Linked DNA regions of Homo sapiens: region 1 is linked to region 2. Evidence: promoter capture Hi-C in 16 types of primary human blood cells and fetal thymus (Javierre and others, 2016). All regions are on one chromosome and are shown on one strand. Each heading gives the region's core, a stretch centred on a gene start or on the middle of the fragment in contact. The rest is flanking DNA. Distances are from core to core; before and after follow the strand shown.

What was found. Contacts are between HindIII fragments. The CHiCAGO score rates a contact against its expected background, and 5 or more counts as called.
Region 1: a contact is called between a fragment that was not itself captured here and the fragment with the promoter of CARD8 in region 2, in 10 of 17 cell types (naive B cells, total B cells, M2 macrophages and 7 more). The highest score is 10.1, in naive B cells.

The regions. Positions count from the first base shown.
Region 1 is chr19:47,961,601-47,965,152 of GRCh38, reverse strand. No RefSeq gene overlaps it. Among named protein-coding and RNA genes, the nearest start is that of SNAR-C1, 7.7 kb to the right of the region's middle. The HindIII fragment of the contact is 5,095 bases long and covers 1-3,552 here.
Region 2 is chr19:48,254,150-48,257,540 of GRCh38, reverse strand. It overlaps CARD8 (caspase recruitment domain family member 8), which reads left to right and starts at 1,629. Exons shown (of 14, transcript NM_001184900.3): 1 at 1,629-1,749. CARD8-AS1 (CARD8 antisense RNA 1) reads right to left here and starts at 1,866. Exons shown (of 2, transcript NR_040599.1): 1 at 1,747-1,866; 2 at 1-1,190. RefSeq lists an enhancer at 1,521-1,760. The HindIII fragment of the contact is 2,537 bases long and covers 1-2,146 here.

The DNA of each region.
Region 1 (3,552 bases), core at 951-3,450, 290 kb after region 2:
ACCACTACACTCAGCTAATTTTGTATTTTTTAGTAGAGACGAGGTTTCCCCATGTTGGTCAGGCTGGTCTCGAACTCCCGACCTCAGGTGATCCGCCCGTGTCGGCATCCCAAAGTGCTGGGATCACAGTTGTGAACCACCACGCCCAGCCTGAAGGACCCTTGTATACACTGAAAGCCGAAACAAGAAGGTGGAGCATCACCTTGTTCAACCTCAGCAGGGCATGAGGGCATTGAACAACTCCAGTTCTTCCCTGCTGTTCACGTGTTCATGAATGGCCAAGAAAACAGTGAGTATATGCCTGGGCACAGCAGCTAATGCCTGTAATCCCAGCACTTTGGGAAGCTGAGGCAGGTGGATCGCCTGAGGTCAGCAGTTCGAGACCAGCCTGGCCAACATGGCGAAACCCTGTCTCTACTAAAAATACAAAAATTAGCTGGGTGTGGTGGTGCCTGCCTGTAATCCCAGCTACTCAGGAGGCTGAGGCAGGAGAATCACTTGAACCCGGGAGGTGGAGGTTGCAGTGAGCTGAGATTGCACCACTGCACTCCAGCCTGGGAGACAGAGTGAAACTCCGTCTCAAAAATACATTAATTAATTAACTAATTTAAAAAAAAAAAAACCAGAGACTCCAGGGGTAAGAGGAGGCCAGAGAACGGGACCCTTGCTCAGCCTGCAGGATCAGGGATCACTTCTAGGAAGGGACAAGGGACAACAACCAGGCTGGGTCCCGATAGTTTAATGACAATTAGGCAGGTGCAGAGGTGAAGGGGGATGGCAATGTCCAGAGGCCCTGTGACCACACACACACACACACACAAACACACACACACACACACACACACACACACAAACGCCCACCCTCCACTCTTAAACCTATCCATGCTTATGTTAGAAAACACTTAGGGCCAGGCACGGTGGTCCAAGCCTGTAATCCCAACACTGGGAGGCCAAGGCGGGTGGATCACCTGAGGTCAGGAGTTTGAGACCAGCCCGGCCAGCATGGTGAAACCCCATCTCTACTAACAATACAAAAATTAGCCAGGTGTGGTGGCAGGCGCCTGTAATCCCAGCTACTCAGGAGGCTGAGGCAGGAGGATCGCTTGAATCCGGGAGGCTGAGGCTGCAGCGAGCCGAGATAGCAACACTGCACTCCAGCCTGGGCGACAGAGTGAGACTCCATCAAAAAAAGAAAGAAAAGAAAAGAAAAGAAAAGAAAAGAAAAGAAAAGAAAAGAAAAGAAAAGAAAAGAAAAGAAAGACACACACTTAGGCCAGCTCTTTTCAAATGGTGAGTCATAATCTTCCATTTATCAAAGCACAACCAGCATTGTTTAAATTAAAAATACTGCAAACGTGGATGGAAAAACACAGAGTGTTTCATGTGTATGGCATGAGTTATTTCTAAAAAGGTTTAGAGATTGTATAGATAGATAGGGATGCCTAAATAGAAAGATATAGATGATGGATAGATAGAAGTCAGCTCATATTTTAAAGTCTATTCTTTCTATAGATTATGGTTAAAAAAACGGAAACATTGTCTTTGTGAACCCATAAATCTCATCTTAATCTTTCACAAAGCATAGGAAATCTTTTGTAAAGAATATGGCTGACTTGCTTTTCCGCTCTAGGAATGCTAGCAGAAAGCCATGCTTTTTGAAGTGAGCTTCAGGGTTCCAGTGGAGACAGGCAGAGCCTGGTGTGATTGAGCCCAGGTGGTGGCAATTAATCCCTAAGAAGCAAAGTGATACCAGGCAACAGGGTATAATTACTAATCAGATCATAGAGAATGGCTGGTGCAAGAGCGACATCTGGTGGTGATAATCATAGGTTTTTTTCAGAAATGAATTCAACTGACAGTTCACTTAAAGACATTCATTGTGGCCAGGTGCAGTGCTTCATGCCTGTAATCCCAGCACTTTGGGAGGCCGAGGCGGGCAGATCACGAGGTCATGAGATCGAGACCATCCTGGCCAACATGGTGAAACCCCGTCTCTACTAAAATACAAAAAATTAGCCTGGCATGGTGGCACACACCTGTAGCCCCAGCAACTTGGGAGGCTGAGGCAGGGGAATTGCTTGAACCCGGGAGGGGGCGGTTTCAGTGAGCTGAGATTGCACCACTGCACTCCAGCCTGGTGACAGAGCAAGACTCTGTCTCAAAAAAAAAAAAAAAAAAAAGACGTTCATTGCACAGAAGATCCACAGTATAACAGCCAGACTGGAACCATCGCGCTAGAGTCATGGCTTTTCTCCCAGTTCCAGGCACAAGACAGTTCACCAACTCAATGCCCCTTGAGTGAAGGCAAGGCTGGGTAACCAGGCACTGCTATAAGGCCATAGGCAGACACAGTAAGAAAATGCAAAGGGACCAGGCACGGTGGCTCACGCCTGTAATCCCAGCACTTTGGGAGGCCGAGGGGGGTGGATCCCCTGAGGTCAGGAGTTCGAGACCAGCCTGGCCAACATGGTGAAACCCCATCTCTACTAAAAATACAAAAATTAGCTGAGCATGGTGGCGCATTCCTGTAATCCCAGCTACTCGGGAGGCTGAGGCAGGAGAATCGCTTGAGCCTGGGAGGCGGAGGTTGCAGTGAACTGAGATCGCGCCATTGCACTCCAGCGTGAGAGACTAGAGCGAAACTCTAGTCTCTCAGAAAAAAAAGAAAGAAAGAAAGAAAGAAAGAAAAAAGAAAGAAAGAAAGAAAAAAGAAAGAAAGAAAGAAAGAAAGAAAGAAAGAAAGAAAGAAAGAAAGAAAGAAATTACAAAGGTAAATACATAAACTTTCCAGAGCCTACTGAATACTGGTTTTGAGCAAAGATTAGTTTTCAAGGACTAGGAATACCACTGATATCCAGTGATTAGAGTGGAAGATTATAGGAACATGAGACAGAGTCCTGAGTTAGGTTCACTTCTCTGTTAGCTCAGTGTGATACCAAATACTTTCTGCAATGATTTCCGCAGGGCCCAGGAGTAATACAGTTTGAAAAAAATATTTTCAGAAAGGCGTATGACTCACATCGGTTCCCAGACCCTTGGGCCCAGCTATTAAGATAGGGAAAAGTCACATTGCACGTCATCGTAGTTAGCCTCCTACGAGAATGGAGCGCGTGAAGAAACATTATGTTCCTTGGGAATTTCAGAGCTTGGTGGCACCAACAAAGACATGAAAGACTGTTGTCAAACTCTATTCATTTATCTAAATGGGACAGTACAAAAAAAATGCTGAGGCTTAAGCAATTACCATGATTTATTTTTATGTCATTCAAGTCAACCGACTCCTTCTGTAGCTGCTCTTCTACATTGATCTTATTCCTGGAGACTCTGGACCTGGGTAAGCACCTACTTAGAGTGTGTAGTTACATGCCCCCATTCTAAATGCAGGAGAAGCTGATAAACACAGTGTAGCCAAGCAGCCATGTCATCAGCTTTCATTGTGTTACAATGATGATGAAGCGGAGAATGGGCTTCTGTAAACTCTCCTTCATGGCTCCTAGAACATAATCCACTTCCTGGCACTGGAAGAGCATCTTGCAGTGGGGTCATTCTACA
Region 2 (3,391 bases), core at 380-2,879:
GATCTGCCTGCCTCAGGTTCCCAAGTGCTGGGATTATAGGCTTGAGCCATTGCGCCTGGCCAGAAGAATCTTAATGTACAAAAATGAATAGGTTTTTAATACAACAGACTATCCCAATTCCTTGAAAGAAGAAAATACACCCATTAAAACAGAAACTATGGTGCCTAGAATTAAACTGCACAAAAAACTACATGACCCATATAATTTTTTTATGTTGAAATAATTTTAAACATGCAAAATTAGCAAAGATTCATATAAATCCTCAACCAGCCTATCCTGATGTTAGCTATATATATAATTGTATTATATGTATAATAGTTGTTATATATAAAACTGTATATATACATTTATTGTATTATAATCATATATATACATTTATTGTATTATATATAATATACAACTGTATATGTAATTGTAATATAATAATTATATACATAATAGTATATGTAATACAAGTATCCAACCAGGAAATTGATGTCAACGTATCTTACCATTACCTAATGTGCAGACCTTATTTGAATTTTGTCAATATTTCTCTTAACGTCCTCTTTCTTCTCCAAGATCGAATCGAGGATCTCACATTGCACTCAGTTGTTATGTCCTTAGATTCCTCCAGGCTGTGACCGTTTCTTATTCTTCCCTTGTCTTTTGTGATTGTGACACTTTTGCTGAGCATGGCCAATTATTTTACAGAATGTTTATCAATTTGGATTTCTTTGATGTTTTCTCACGATTAGGCTGAGGTCATGCATGTTTGTCTTCTGTGTTCAGTCAATATGCCCCATCCTTTTTCAAATATTTCTTCATGTTCTGGCGTCAGAATTTGTTCCAATGTTATCTTATATATTCCTGCCCCAGCCCTCGAAGTAACCATTTCTCCACAGATACTTCAAAATAGTATTTAGAAACCAAGGCCGGGCACAGTGGCTCACGCCTGTAATCCCAGCACTTTGGGAGGCCGAGGCGGGCTGATCTCGAGGTCAAGAGACGGAGACCATCCTGACCAACATGGTGAAACTCCGTCTTTACTAAAAATACAAAAAATTAGCCGAGCGTGGTGGCATGCACCTATAATTCCAGCTACTCGGGAGGCTGAGGCAAGAGAATCGCTTGAACCTGGGAGGCAGAGGTTGCAGTGAGCCGAGATTGCTCCATTACACTCCAGCCTGGGTGACAGACGGAGACTTCATCTCAAAAAAAAAAAAAAGTAATATTGATTAAAAATCAAATTGCATGAGAATGCATAGCAGGATACCAAGCAAATACAACTTTTAAATATTACAGAAAATGATATTTAAAATACAAACCAAATACATAAATCATGCAGGCGGATTAAGACGTTTCTGGATAGTGGTAACAGCTGAGAGTGGCTGGATGAATTCCAGAGAAATTTCATATATTGCTTCAATTTTATTTAAAATATACTATTACCTATGTCTTAGATATTTTATTTTAAATAATGAACAAGGATATTATAAACTCTGCAGAAGTAAGTGTAATCGTGTTTTTTTCCTGCCCACATTAAAGATGGCCCAGATGCTTGCACTGACCCCATTGACTGCCCACAGCCATCATGGCGACCGGAAGTCCTGAGAGCTTACTTCCCTCAGTTCTCAGAAAGCCCACCTCCTCTGCGAGCGTTATTTCAAAAGAAGTTGAGAACCAGAGAAACCGACCTAAGGGGATTCTCCCATTTGGCCCGTCCTACCCTAAAGTCACCACCTGCTGCTTTTCTGGAGCGCTTACCAGGTGAGTTTCAGGAGCCCTAGTGTACAGGAAGGAGAAACGGAGGCTTGTTGGTAGGACACCGCCAGGCTGCTCTGTGTTCTGTTCCTCTTAGTCAGCAAGGAAGGAGTACGACAAAGTGAGAAGTTCATATGAGCGTGTCAGAAGGGGAAATAGGGCCCCTCCCTTGTTAAAAACAAAACCCTCTGGAAGCTCGGCATCCTGTCATAACTTAAATTTATGACTTCAGTGACTTGGCTTGGACAGTCTTAATAATCTCTCTCACACTCAATTTGTTTTAATTTCTGTAATAATAATTTTTATACCAATGTTTATGTTGTTAATACTAATAATTTTACACTGTAACTGTATAACTTTAATTATTAGAAGTGTTAACCTAACTAACAAACATATGAAAGCTTCCTAAGGGAAACAATTTTTTTTTCTTTTTGAGATGGAGTCTCGCTCTGTGGCTAGGCTGGAGTACAGTGGCATGATCTTGGCTCACTGCAACCTCTGCCTCCCAGGTTCAAGCGATTCTCGTGCCTCAGTCTCCCAAGTAGCTGGGACTACAGGCGTGCACCACCACATCCAGCTAATTTTTTATTTTTTAGTAGAGACGGGGTTTCACCATGTTGGCCAGGATGGTCTCCGTCTCTTGACCTCGAGATCAGCCCGCCTTGGCCTCCCAAAGTGTTGGGATTACAGGCGTGAGCCACTGCGCCCAGCCGGAAACAATGTTTATTTGGGAATAGAGCATTGCAATTGGGAATAGACATGCCGTATTAAACTATGTGTATATTCAGGGAGATAAAGGAAGACAGAAATGGGGAGGATTGCATATTGTTTTAACAGAATTTTCCTTGGCTACAAAGATCAGTAACAAGGGTGACATTAGTCCTAGGTTGGACCAGCAGTTGCTGGGCAGCATTCCTTGCAGAAATATATATTTTTTTAAGGTTGTGAAGACCTTTATGTAAGGTTGTGGGTTTTGTAGAGTCTTTTTCATCTTCAGGCATGCAAGGATAAGAGCCCTCTCTTCATGGCCTTCCTGGCTCTATTTGTCAGGGTTATCTTAACATAAGTGACTCCATTTTGTTCTGACAACTTTCAGATTTCCCCTTGTGATCAAGAAGTTTCTCTGAAAGCACTCTCCTGCCTCAGCCTCCCGAGTAGCTGCGACTACAGGTGCCCACCACCACACCCAGCTAATTGTTTTTGTGTTTTTAGTAGAGACGGGGTTTCACTATGTTGGCCAGGCTGGTCTCGAACCCCTGACTTGTGATCTGCCCACTTCGGCCTCCCAAAGTGCTGGGATTACAGGGATGAGCCACCGCACCAGGCCTGCATTTCTTTTTTCAAAGAATTACTGTGGCATTTTTTCCAATGTCATTGTGTTCTGTGGTTCTTATCTAGTCTTCACATTTATTTACATAATGAACTTTCAATGATGGATTTCTACAGAATTTTTGTCACTAAGTGGTTGCCTAGAAGTATATATCCTAAGATTGAACATATTGAAATATGAGCTAACTTTTCTCATTCAATTATTGATTACTTAGTTAGTTTATTTATTATTTGGGGGATGGGATCTTGCAATGCTGCCCAGACCAGACTCAAACTCCTGGGCTCAAACTCCTACCTCAGCCTCCCAAGTAGGTGGGAT